Regions from separate parts of the Homo sapiens genome. Here all the other regions are linked to region 3. Evidence: promoter capture Hi-C in 16 types of primary human blood cells and fetal thymus (Javierre and others, 2016). All regions are on one chromosome and are shown on one strand. Each heading gives the region's core, a stretch centred on a gene start or on the middle of the fragment in contact. The rest is flanking DNA. Distances are from core to core; before and after follow the strand shown. Region 1 holds the start of ZUP1 (zinc finger containing ubiquitin peptidase 1). Region 2 holds the start of TSPYL1 (TSPY like 1). Region 3 holds the start of ASF1A (anti-silencing function 1A histone chaperone).

Evidence for each region. Contacts are between HindIII fragments. The CHiCAGO score rates a contact against its expected background, and 5 or more counts as called.
Region 1: a contact is called between the fragment with the promoter of ZUP1 here and the fragment with the promoter of ASF1A in region 3, in 4 of 17 cell types (naive CD8 T cells, activated CD4 T cells, monocytes and 1 more). The highest score is 10.1, in naive CD8 T cells.
Region 2: a contact is called between the fragment with the promoter of TSPYL1 here and the fragment with the promoter of ASF1A in region 3, in 2 of 17 cell types (total CD8 T cells and fetal thymus). The highest score is 6.4, in total CD8 T cells.

What each region holds. Positions count from the first base shown.
Region 1 is chr6:116,666,262-116,670,513 of GRCh38, forward strand. ZUP1 (zinc finger containing ubiquitin peptidase 1) reads right to left here and starts at 2,505. Exons shown (of 10, transcript NM_145062.3): 1 at 2,305-2,505; 2 at 373-946. The coding sequence starts at 931. RefSeq lists a silencer at 1,429-1,578 and an enhancer at 2,340-2,529. The HindIII fragment of the contact is 3,066 bases long and covers 2,261-4,252 here.
Region 2 is chr6:116,277,313-116,281,862 of GRCh38, forward strand. TSPYL1 (TSPY like 1) reads right to left here and starts at 2,618. Exons shown (of 1, transcript NM_003309.4): 1 at 1-2,618. The coding sequence starts at 2,518. The coding sequence ends at 1,205. It also overlaps a transcript of DSE not described here. RefSeq lists enhancers at 1,982-2,031, 2,052-2,321, 2,552-2,611. The HindIII fragment of the contact is 6,415 bases long and covers 1-3,947 here.
Region 3 is chr6:118,891,330-118,895,564 of GRCh38, forward strand. ASF1A (anti-silencing function 1A histone chaperone) reads left to right here and starts at 2,823. Exons shown (of 4, transcript NM_014034.3): 1 at 2,823-3,193. The coding sequence starts at 3,085. The region is part of intron 8 of MCM9 (minichromosome maintenance 9 homologous recombination repair factor); the gene reads right to left. RefSeq lists silencers at 2,558-2,697, 3,488-4,017 and an enhancer at 3,018-3,107. The HindIII fragment of the contact is 9,487 bases long and covers 1,818-4,235 here.

The DNA of each region.
Region 1 (4,252 bases), core at 1,255-3,754, 2.2 Mb before region 3:
CTGATATCACAGAGAGTTTGTTCTCCAATCATAACAGAATAATGGAGTCAAAATAGAACTCAATGCAAAGTCAGAGAGTCCAGGACAGTCCAGATGCTACTGGGTTAGTGACAATAAAAAGAATACCCTCTGGAAACTAGACAGAAAGTTCCAAAACTACTCTCAATGTAGCTGAAACATTTTATATCTGCATTAAAATTCTTTTCCATAATGTACTTTTATATTTCAGTAACAGCAAATGAAAAATGTTATAGACATAAAATGGATTTCAAAACACATCTGTAGTAAGCTGACTTACAAACCAACTTTTAAAATACCACATATTAAATTGAGGCTGTAAACTTATAATTTATAATGAAATGAAAACTTTACCTTCCAATGGAATGTCTAAAAGATTGGCATGCTTTGTTTTCACATGAGTTTCCATATCTTCACTGTGCTCCTCTATTTTTCCACAGAATGGACATTCAGGAGGACTGTATGTTGTTTCATAAACAGATCCTTTTATTTCGGTCAGGCTGGACTGTTTTTCCCTACTTTTCAGGAATTTTCTAGATTCAGTTAAGTTCTCTGAATAGAAGCCTTCATGTTTTAAAGTACTATCTTTAGTCAGGTTTTGAGCTGAATTTTTTGGATGATTAGATGCACAACCTGAAAGAATACTTGAATTAACTTCCATTCCACACTGTAGGGTGTTGTCTTTCTTGTTATCTGAAGTTCCATATTGTACTGTATTTATCCTCTCAAAGTTTCTTTCAAGTGTATTCTGCTCAAAATGAGCTGTTTCGATATGAAAACACATTTCATCATAATTCACACCTGACAACTTGCAAAATGGACATATAATTTCACTTTCCATGTGAACAATTAGGTGAGCTTTCATGTCTGGTTCTGAGGTTACTGTTTCACCACAAATATTACAGGAAAGCATGGTATTGACAAGTAGCTAGAAAAGAACATAACATTAGGTTTCAAAGATTTGAAGAAAAAATGTGTTTCATAAAATGATTTGAGACAATTACTTGGTCTTTAACGCTGGATTATTTTGATGAAGAAGTTTTCAATGTACTTACTGTTCCTCAAATACAAAAACTTATTTATAAATATCAACCAAAATTTCATTTATTTTTTTTTAAAAAAAGGCAATAATAATGAATACAAGTAATTTTAAAAATAAAATATTTCAAAAAATGTCTCTGGCCCAAGGTGGAGAAAAAATAACGTTTAAAAAATTGTCCAGGTAAGATAAATCAGGTAAGAAAAAAATGAAGAGAAGAAACCTATTTATCAACTGATATATCTAAATACTGAATACTGAAGCTGATTATATTGAGGAGGTAAATAAACACATCTTACAAGTAGAGTTTAACACTGTAAACTTAGAGTCTTACATGTATCAAGTGCTATTTAAGTGCTATTATTGTAATTTAAGTACTATTATTATCGCTCTACACATAAAGAAATTCTGGCTCAGACAGGTCACCACAAGCAGAAAAAGGTGGAAGCCAAAATGCCAACCCCGTCGTGCTCCACAGCCTGTACTCTCAGCCCCAAGAATAAAAGCAGAAGTGGTATAGTAGAAAAAAGCACTTATTCCAGAGTCAAGAGAACTGGGTAATAATTTCAGATTCATCATTTTGGGTAAGGAATCTCATCTCTCTGAGGTTCAGTCAAAGACTACTGTAAAATCCAAAGGTAGTTATTTTTGGATTTTATGGACAAATAAAGTACTGACTACTGACATAAAAGTGTTAAAAAAATAATTTTAAAAAAAGCAATCACTTCGCCACCACCTTCCTACTACAGGTCATCGTTCAGCTAAAGACTATTTAAAATCAAACAGGAAAAGTAATGACACTATCACTTCATTTAAATAAATTTACCTTTAAAATACCTCCCTACATTGTCCTTATTTTTTTCATTTCTCTCCAGACAAATGGATACAGTCTCTGATTTTAGAAGGCAGTTCTCCCGAGCCCCCAGTGGGATTAATGTCACACCCGGAGTTTCTTCTCTTCCGGTGGCTGGGACACGGTCAGACACAGAATGATGAACTTGGACATGGACTCAGATTAAGCGGGTAAGAGACAAGAGAGTACCCAGGTGCCTCAGAGGAAGCGAGTGAGAGGCATGAAGGACCCAGTGCCAAGCTAGGTACGTGGTGGGTGAGGTCAGAAGACCGCAAGGCCGAGTCTCCCAAACGTTCCGCGCCAAAGGCACAAGCCAGGCACACGAAACTAGCAGGCACTAACTGGGTCAAAGCTTTGGGCCTGGGGAATAAGGGAGGGGACCATCAATTCTTACCGGCCCAGAGGCCAGCAGCTGCCACACTGAGCTCCGCTAGGCTTCCCCTTTGGGCCTCGCTGGCAGACGAGTGCGTGCGCGGCGTCCAGTACCTCTCCTGGCCTGATGACTGAGGCCAGGCCTTCCCAATACGCAGAGTTTCACAGTTAACCGAGGAAAGAATTAGGAACTTCCAACACCTTGGCCCTCAGTACCTCATTCAAAAGCACTTCCTTACTCCCACGGAAAAGAAGTAATCCCAGAATGCGCCGCTCCACGCCGGTCTCTATGCAGTGCATTCTGGGAGATGTAGTCTTTTTTTTTTTTTTTTTTTTTTGAGACGGAGTCTCGCTCTGCTGCCCAGGCTGGAGGGCAGTGCGCGATCTCGGCTCACTGCAAGCTCCGCCTCCCGGGTTCACGCCATTCTCCTGCCTCAGCCTCCCGAGTAGCTGGGACTACAGGCGCCCGCCACCATGCCTGGCTAATTTTTTGTATTTTTAGTAGAGACGGGGTTTCACCGTGTTAGCCAGGATGGTCTCGATCTCCTGAGAGATGTAGTCATTTTTGCATTCCTCCCATTTCCGAGTTTTTCCTTCTCCCATCGAGTTTCCTGCCACTCAATTGCTAGGAGAGAAAACCGGGCTCTGAGGTCATTCATACTTAATCTGAATGAGTTCACAGGGCAGGTCCTGGGGCAAATAGCAGTCTACACTAGGGCCTGCTGAGTAGCACTCTATTTTAGTATCAATAAAGGGTTTATAATGCTGCTAGGTATCAAGCTCCCAGCTATGCACCGAAGGTAAAGGATACCAGGTTCTTTCCTCAAGGTTACAAGATAACAAATATCTTGGTTTGTATGTATGTATGTATGTATATATATATATTTTTTGAGACGGAGTCTTGCTCTGTCGCCCAGGCTGGAGTGCAGTGGTGCCATCTCTGCTCACTGCAAGCTCCGCCTCCCGGGTTCACGCCATTCTCCTGCCTCAGCCTCCCAAGTAGCTGGGACTACAGGCGCCCGCCACCACGTCTGACTAATTTTTTGTATTTTTAGTAGAGATGGGGTTTCACCGTGTTATCCCGGATGGTCTCGATCTCCTGACCTCGTGATCCGCCCCCCTCGGCCTCCCAAAGTGCTGGGATTACAAGCGTGAGCCACCGTGCCCGGCCGTATGTATGTATTTTTAGAGAGGAGGACTCTTTCTGTCACCCAGGCCAGAGCACAGTGGCTAAAATAGCTCACCGCAGCCTCGAACTCCTGGCCTCAAATGATCCTCCCATCTCGGCCTCCCAAAGTGTGAGCCACCATGTTAGCCCAAAATCACAAATATCTTGTCATTCAGGCTTTATTTCATTCAACAAATATTTAAAGAGTGTCTATTAGAAAGGCGTTTTGCTTGCAACAGGAGCTGCAGCAGTAATCAAAATACACAAAATTCAGGATTTTTGAGGCTTACATGCTGGTGAGGTAGAGGAAATAAAAAGTAAATTAACTGATCATGATAAGTGCTATGAAGAAAATAAAACTGGATTGGCCAGGCTCAGTGGCTCACATATGTAATCCCAGCACTTTGGGAGGCCGAGGCGGGCAGATCATTTGAGGTCAGGAGTTCAAGACCAGCCTGGCCAACATGGTGAAAGCCCGTCTCTACTAGAAATACAAAAATTAGCTGGGCGTGGTGGCAGGTGCCTGTAATCCCAGCTACTCGGGAGGCTGAGGCAGGAGAATTGCTTGAACCCGGGAGGCGTAGGTTGCAGCGAGCTGAGATCGTGCCACTACACTCCAGCCTGAGTGACAGAGCAATAGATTTTTGAGACTGAGTCTCAAAAAAAAAAAAAAAAAAAGAAAGAAAGAAAGAAAAGAAAACTGGATTATAGAGATACGAATGTTTAGAAAAGGTCTTGATGAAGGGTTGAGTGTGCTGATGAACAAACCTTACACCAACAGGGGAAATAGCATTTCAGACAG
Region 2 (4,550 bases), core at 1,368-3,867, 2.6 Mb before region 3:
TCCATTCATCATCATTGGGGAGTAAGTACTCCTTCCTCGAAAGCTCTTAACGACAGCACAGTCTTCACTCTAGGCCCAATTTTTACCTGGCCCATGCCTCTAGCCTTTTGTTCAGTTTCTCCTGCTTAGGGCACCTTTCATCCCATCTAGATGTGTCTCTCTTTAACTATTCTAGGAGTTGATAAAAGGGCTAGGAAGTAGGAAGTTGGGAAGAAGGGGAGGGGCGTAAGAGCTCTAGCACTCTATTTTACAGGCCAACTTCTTTGCCTCTGAAAATGACAGAGCCAAAATGAAATAAAAACCTTGCTTTTACAAATGTTTCTGAGCTATCACTTTTTTAAGAGAGGATTGGGAGGCTAAGGAGGGCGGATCACGAGATCGGGGTTCGAGACCAGCCTGGCCAGCATGGTGAAACCCCGTCTCTACTAAAAATATAAAAATTAGCCGGGCGTGGCGGCGCGCGCCTGTAGTCCCAGCTACTCGGGAGGCTGAGGCAGGAGAATCGCTTGAACCCGGGAGGTGGAGGTTGCAGTGAGCCGAGATCGCGCCACTGCACTCCAACCTGGGCGACAGAGCAAGACTCCGTCCTCCGTCTCAAAAAAAAAAAAAAAAAAAAAAAAAAGGAAAACAGGGAGAGAGAGGGACCTTGGCAGGAGCCAATGTAGGGCAGGTAGCAATAGAAAGTGACTAGAGGTGAAGGAAGAGCAATGAAGTACCATAAATCACACAGAACAAGTGGCTCACTGCTTTTCTCCTCTGAGTTCATTAACGTCCAGTAACTGTCCACAGGGCATGTGCCCATACTGCTCAATGCAGAGCTGAGTAGGTGGAACAGGCTCCCAAAGCTAGAAATCCAAGTGACAGCAACCAGTTCAGAGGCCCTGGGAATAAACAGGGTCCAAGCAGTGCAGATAAAGGCAGTACAATCTACAGTATCATTTGCTTGGCTTACAAGTAGTGTGAAGGATGACCTCGTAGCATGTGATATTCCAGAACAGCATGAAGGTCATATGGAAGTGGAGAAGCATACCCACCACCGTCTCAATCTTGAGGTTGAGAGAACTGAATATCCAAAGGAAACAGGGTGCAGAAAAGTCAGCAAAAACAAAGCACAATAGAAGGCATACTCATTGCTGATGCCCAAGCACAGGTCCAGCAGAAGGTGGTAGGAGACCTTGTGCAGGAGTATTCCCAAGGGCAAATGTTAACCAGACTGGAACCCAAAGGGCCTGGGGATCTCTACAGGCTCCCTTAGCGGGCGACGTCGGGCTCTACGGACTCCTTCACGCAACAGGTAGTATTGCAGTGGATTTGGCCACAGATCCTCTTTAATAATCTCAGCAATTTTGTCGGACTCTGGAAGGCTGTGGTCTGAAAACCAAGTGAAGAAGCTGCAGATGAGGTCTTGGTTTCTGCGAATGAAGGACTGGGGTTCATGCCCCCTGCGCCATATAATTGGAGTAGAAAGAGACACCACTCGGCCGGAGGATCTTACCTCATATTCCTTGACAATCAGCTTGTTTCTGAAGTAGGGGTTTCTTCTAAAGAAGAACTTGAACTTGCAACCGGTTCTAGGGTGTCTGAGTTCCTTCACCTCTAAATTGGTTATGTACCTTAACATCTCTGCATCTTGGCCCCTAATCATGGCGGACAACTGGGGGTGGTTTCGAAAAGCAGTCATCCAGAAGCCCGGGATATTCTGAATGATGTAGTTCCTCCGCTCCAGGTAGTGTCGACGCATCCGCCCAAACTTGTGCTCCAGCTGTTGGAAGGCCCTGTCGGCCTGAGCATTCACAGTGTCCAGTTCCAGCTGGATGGCCTCCAGAGGGTCCATGCGGAGAGCCTCATGCAAAGGCCAGGGCCCTTCTTCCTCCCTCGCCTCCTCCTCCAATCTATCCTCCTCCGCCACTTCTATTTCTTCACCTTCTGGCGGCTGCTCCTCTACCTCCATCTGCTCCTCCATTACCTCCTTCTCCGCCAGGCCTTCCTTCACCACCTCAGCGCTCTCCCTCTCAGCCACGGCTGCTGAGACGGTGGCGCACTTTCCTGTCTTCACCTCCTCCGCCTCAGCCTCCGCCCCCGCCGTCAGCTCAGACGCGGATCTCTGGGCGCCACAGATTTCTAGGGCCTTCTCTCCACCCTGAACGCCCTTTTTCAGGCTGCGGTCGGCTGCCATCACCACAGAAGCGGCTGCCAGGCCTTCGGCGGGAGGCTGGCCCTCTTCCTGCCCGGCTTTGATCGCCACATGACCGCGACCCCCAACAACTCGGATCTGGGGAGTACCGCCACGGCCCGCGGCATCCTGGGGTACGCCCCCCTCCTCTGAAGGCGGTGGAGGCGGGAGCGCGACGGTCTCCGAGCCTCCCTCACCCGGCTCCGCCATCACCTGTGTCGCCTCGCTTTGGTCGCGGAGCCTCAGGTACTGGTGTGCGTCCTGGTCGCTCGGGACTTGGTCAGAAATAATGATGCTGTGGGTTTGGAGGGGAGTGGTCCTCTTGACCCCATCCAGGCCGCTCATGTTGCTAACAGTCGGACCAACCGCAGGCGAACGCCCGTTTTCCTCAGAGGCCGAACTGGGAGCTAACCGCCGCTCGCACCGCCCACCCTACAGTCTCACTAACATTTCAGCGGCGGTGTCGTCAGGACTGGAGATCTCACGGTATCGCGAGAACTTGCTGAGCCCGGGATTGGTTCCGCCGCTCCCTGCCAGCCAACCGGATTCTCTGGGCTTTATTTCTGTGAATTTACCCATAGCAACAGTAATTTTACCTACGTAAATAAATGTCGATTGTGCTGAGTCTGGAAGCGCGGACGACCCACCTTGAGATGCATCTAGCGACTGCTCCCAGCATGTAGGAGCAGTTGTAAAATCACAGCCGTAACAGTGCCTGCTCTCCAGTGTCTGAAAACAAATGTTTTTCTGGTCTTCACTTTTTTGAGGCAGGAAGGTAAATCTATTCCCTGTTACTCCACGTAACTAGCAGCAAAAGACTTCTCTTTAAGATTAATAGCAAAATGTTTCCCCCCTTCTTAGTAAAAGTGACATAAAAATATCAATTCTTGCCTCTACGGTTACTGGGGAAAAAAAGCTACTCAGCAGCCTCTTACCACTAAAGCGATGCATAGTATTCATTGCTAATTTTCGATTTATAATCTGCATCAAATAAGAGTTTGTGCTGCATAGTATCGGTAGAAATTAAGCCAGGATCAGTTTGCTAAATGTTCCATGCCTTTTCACTGCAAGAAAGAGGAAATTATAACTATTTCCAGCCCCAAGAACTTAATTTATTATCATATTTAGTTATGTAAGATAGGAATGTTTGGCTCTAACGAAGCATCTGTCTTTAGCAATCAGCTGAGTTCATTAGAGGGGGATGTCAATGTCTCTGGTTGAAGTGTTCCAGTTTGTTGACTTGTGAGTTAAACTGGTGCTGTCTTAGAGAGCTACAAGGCCTCAGAGAAATATCAGTGGGGGGAGCCACATACCACCATTTTGTGAGGAAAGGCTAGTTAAAATGGACAACTAAGATGGCCTTGAAGTAGAAAACAAACTTGCAAAGGGCAACATGCAGCTGGTGGACTCAAGGTATAAAAGAGGCAAACGTTATTTTCTACTTAATTTGCTTTGTGTGGTAGTAGCCTGATGGCCCTCAAAGATGTACCTGTCTTAGTTATGCGGCCAAAGGGACTTCGCAGATATGATTAAGTTAAAGATTTGGAGATGAGAAGATGATTCTGGATTATACAGGTGGGCCCTATGGAATTACAAATTTCTTATAAGAAGGAGGCAGGAGGGTCAGTCAGAGAAGATAAGAGGACGAAAGCACAGAGAGAGGGAAGGAATGGTGGAGAATAGGTGTGGGAGGGAGGAAAGGGAAATCGCTATGTTGCTGGCTTTGAAGATGGAGGAAGGAGCCAGGATCGTAGGAATAAAGGCAGCCTCTAGAAGCTTGAAAGGTAAGGAAATAGATTCAATCCTAGAGCCTCCAAAGGAATGACAACACCTTGAGGTTATTACCTCTAAACTCCAGCACTATAAGAAAATAAATTTGTGCATTTTAAGCTATTAAATTTGTGGTAATTTGTTACAGAAGCAATATGAAATGAATACACCTTGGATTAAGGTTTGGTTGCATCTATGGGTGCCTCAAGTTGTTTCTAATAGCAGCCCCTTCTACCTTGCTCATGGCTTCCCGTGAGTTCCTGCCCAACAGCTGTGATGTATTACAGCTTGAATCTGTCTTTCAATATCAAGACCAGAAATATACTTAGGCAAATGCACAGAAAGACAAAATTAAAGCCTAAACATACCACAAACGATATCTGAGGAGACTGTAAACTGCAAGAGGACATGATCATGGTTTCGTTTCCCTCTGTTTATCGAGTGCCTAGCACACTACCTTACACAGTATCCCATAGATTATTAAAATGTTAAATAAAGGAGCAAATGAGCAGAAAACAGTTTCTCTTGCTTGCAACTTGCTCCTTGCGGAAGAGAAGTAAGGGGCATATGGGTTGTCACTCTGCTCTCCTTCCTATCTGCCACTGGC
Region 3 (4,235 bases), core at 1,573-4,072:
TGCTCAAATAAGCTTAATTCTGAGGGGAAAAATATCTTATAGCTATATTAGGTTGTTAGAGCTGCCATAACAAAATATCACTCACTGGGTGGCTTAAACAATAGAAATTTACTTTCTCACAGTTCTGGAAGCTAGAAATCCAAGATCAAGGTGTTGGCAGGTTTGGTTTATTCTAAAGCCTCTTTGCTTGGCTTGCAAATGGCCACCTTTTTGCTGTGTTTCCTCTGTGTGCGTGTGACCCTTGTGCTTCTCTGTAAATCTAAATTTCCCCTTGTGAGGACGCCAGCTAGATTAGATTAGGGCCCACCCCAATCACCTCATTTAACTTAATCTCCAAATACAGTCACATTCTGAGGTACTAGGGATTAGTGCTTCAACATACGAATTTGGGGGAGACATAATTCAGTCTAAAACAACAACTAACTAGTTTCATGTATTTCTGCCCTAAGCACTAGTTTAGGCTTTGTTCTGTTCATCTTAGAGCCGATAAAATCTCTCTCAGCCATCCTTCCCCCAAGTAACCCATAGTGAGAAGTGATTGGGGGATTACATTCCATGCAGCCCTCCAAACATTATGTGGGACCCCCTTGGGTACTTAATAAAGACATTCACAGTGACCCATCTGTTGTACAATTAGATGTTTGGGAGTCACCAAAGTTGTTCAGCAACAAGTCCTACTGATTGCCTCTGAAACCAGAGAGAGGCTTTCACAATTCTTTTTTTCCTACAGCATACCAGTTAAATTAGAAATATGCCAGGACATATCTGAGGAATCCTTTCGGTCTCTCCTGGAGTAAGGTAGTATCAATGGTGAGGAAACTATTGAACAAAGTGCTCAACGACCCTTTAGTATTTCTGACAAGCAATAATACAAGAGTTAAGACAGGAGAAGCCTGGAGCTAATTCTTGCAGCTTCCAGTGAAATGTTGGGGAGTTTTTTCTTCTTAAATACTGTTGCATATGATGTGTTAAACAAAAAATTTTAAAGAAAATAAGCCAAATTAGTGGCATTCAGGTAGATCTTCTCAGTCCTTCATGCTGCACATCCACCAAAAGTGAGTTTTACAACTAGTCTCATTGTAACACTTACGGTCAGACTGCAAAATGCACGTGATTTTAACAAGCATAAAATGTCGTTTTCATGAGACTGACTAGACTCTCCTCTTAAGAGTACCTGTAATAATCAGACAACTGCATACACCAGTCTCACAGGAGTTTTAATCTTCAAATGGTCATTTTATCTTACATATACAGAGTGTCTTACAGCATACAGCAATTTCCACTTTATCTGCTAGTGTTAGGACCAGCACTAATAAGAATGAAGAGTATGTTGTTTATCAGCCACAAAAATCTGTGTCTATCACCATGGTTTGACTCTTAATACTCTAATGTCACAAACAACTGGCTTGAAGAAGTGTTTTTTGGTAGGTCCTATATCTAACTGTTCAATCCACTGACAAAAAAAGGGAACTCTTCCCCACTCTAACCGGTTTTCCTAAATGTACGAGGGGTTGACATTAGCTGTCTCACATTAACTTTCAAAAGACCATCAGATGAAAACGTTTCATCAAAAGCCACCTACTTAAGTATGAACAATGACCAAAGAATGACAAATCAAAATTCTGGGCACTATACTAAGAGAAAACTCTTCCAGAACACATACTTAAGAATTAATTTTCTCTCTGAATTTGGCCAAGTTTGGTGGTTTCATTCACAACATTTAAGGAAAAAAATGATGGTTTATGGCTAGCAGATAATAAAACAAACCTTTATACCACTTACTAAATAGAAACGGTTTAGGCTCACAAATATGTTAAAGCTTTCTCTTTCCCCGCAATGGTAGCCAAGCAGCATAAACGAATCAACATTTCCTCAGTTCAGACCTCAACTGGTTACAGGCAAGCAAGGGCTCCTCAGAATTTGCTTTACTAACGGTTTAGGTCAGAAATTTTTTTGAAGATCAAATGTCTTGCTATGTCTTTGTGTTCTTTTTCCCATCTCTATTACGTTTGTTGCCCTGTTGGTCTCCTAACACTTCCATTTTCTCCTTTTATGTTCCTGCTATGCTCTCCAAATGGCAGTAACCTGAAGTATAACTGATCACACCTCTTGTGATTTTTTTTTATTCTAGGACTTCCCAGATCTGGACTCCGAAGAAGACGCCCAGGTGCAAGCCCAAAGGTTACCTATTTAAATTTTCCAAGCACAGTGTGTAGAAAATCATTCCTCGCCCTTCATTTTGTGTTGCTTAACGGCGCTGTCGTGCCTAAACGTAGATACTGGCCAAGAGCTAGATTTCCAAAATGGCTTTGCTCCTTTCGAGCTGACATCGGTCTATAACATGCAATTTATTTCCCCTGCAGCCAATCTTTCTCTCTACTCCAAATACTACCCGATACGCAGAAAGCTGAACCTAACCCAGTGTAAACACCGACTCTCATCTGCTAAATTCAGCAAGGCCGGCAAAGCTGTTGCACTGATGTAAAAAGAGCGTTAAATCAAAAAACCAAAAAAACAAAAAAAAAAACAAAAAAACGCCAAAACACCCACACGAAGCCAACTGGAGGGGCGGGCGTCGGCCGGATCGCGCCCTCCCGCCGCAGCCACGCCTCCCCGCCGCGGCCACGCCCCCTCCGCCCCTCTCCGCGCCGCCGCCGGCGGCCTCCGCGCGGGCCTCCCAGCCCTTATTCCACTCACTTTGTTCTCCGCCTTTGTCCTAATCCACACCAGCAGGTGGAGCCGCAGTTAAAGTTTCCGAGTCCATTCCGGGAGCGGGAGCCCATCTTGCTGGCTGCCGAGGCCCTCGCTGGAGGAGGAGGGTCAGAACTCGGGTGCAGCCAATCGAGGGCAACGCTGCTACTTATCAGAGCAGAATGGGCTGTAGTTTAGTGAAATAGGAAAGCTGCAAAACACTGTGGAGTGCTCCCGTGTAAATAAAAAGAGGAAAAAAGTTTCTCAAGTCGCCGCTGCACGACGTCTGGCCGGCGCTGGAGCGGGGGTCTGCGCTCTCCCGAGCGGCCGCGCGCTGGACTTTATTGTGCCGCAACCAGCCCCAGTTCCCATTGTTTGTGTTTTTTTCAAAATATGGCAAAGGTTCAGGTGAACAATGTAGTGGTGCTGGATAACCCTTCTCCTTTCTACAACCCGTTCCAGTTCGAGATCACCTTCGAGTGCATCGAGGACCTGTCTGAAGGTGAGTGCGGCGCCCGTGCGCCCGGGCTGTCAGTTGCGGGCTGCAGACGTTGAAAGTTTCCCGGGCCGGGCCTCGCGCTGGGCGGCTGTGTTCGGCGCCTGGCGGCCGCGGGCTGCTCTGCGGAGGGAAACTTGAAGTTGATGGACGACGGCCGCCGAGGCGCGCGCGGCTTTCCGCCGCAGCCCAGGCGCCTGCCGGGCTCAACTTGCGAGGAACTTGTTTGAGCGGAGGAGCGGAGGTAGCCATGTTGTCAGCTTTGTCTGCGGGCGGGCAGCTCGGAGACCCGCACTCGCTCCCGCTGCGCCGCCTGAGGTCGCGCCGGGCTGGCTCCGCGCCGCCAACAGCCTCCGCGACCCTCCGGGCCCGAGCACGGAGGCTGGGAAGGGAGAGGCTGTGCGTGTGGTCGCGCCGGCGAGTTCGGAGCGGAGCCATCTTACCCCGAGTCGAGAATTGGGCCAGCGACCCCGGCGCACGGCGCCTCCTCTTGCCCCGCCGCCCGCCTGCCCCCGGCGAAAGGCAGGCAGGCACTCTCGAGAGCTCACGGTGGAGTCGCCGCACTCTCCGGGCTGGCCATGCCTGGCCGCTTCGGGGAGGAGAGCGAGGCTGTCCTCGCGCTGATTTCTGGCTTCCTCGACCAACCAGCGGGGGAGGCGGGCGCAGGCTCGGCCCCTCCGCGCCGCGGGCTGGGCGCCGGCGCTCCCCGGGGGCCGTGGGTCCTGTTCGGCCGGTCCTCCTCGGCCGGCGCCCGGGATGCGCCGGGATGCTGGCGCGCAGGCTCCCCAACCAACGTGGACTCCTTTCCCCTAATGACGAAAAGCTAATTTCAGGAAGAGAAATAGAGCTGAGGTAGGAAGTTACATTTAACCTAAAAGCAGAAATAAGATACTTAAATAATTTCCAGGACTTAATCTCTGCCTTATAAATAGTCTGAAGGAAGACTTTCTTCAAGACCGTGTTGAAATCTAAAATAACTCCACATCCAAATACAGAACACACCCTAAACATAAAACACAAACGTAGGCTAGGAAATTAAGGTCAACTC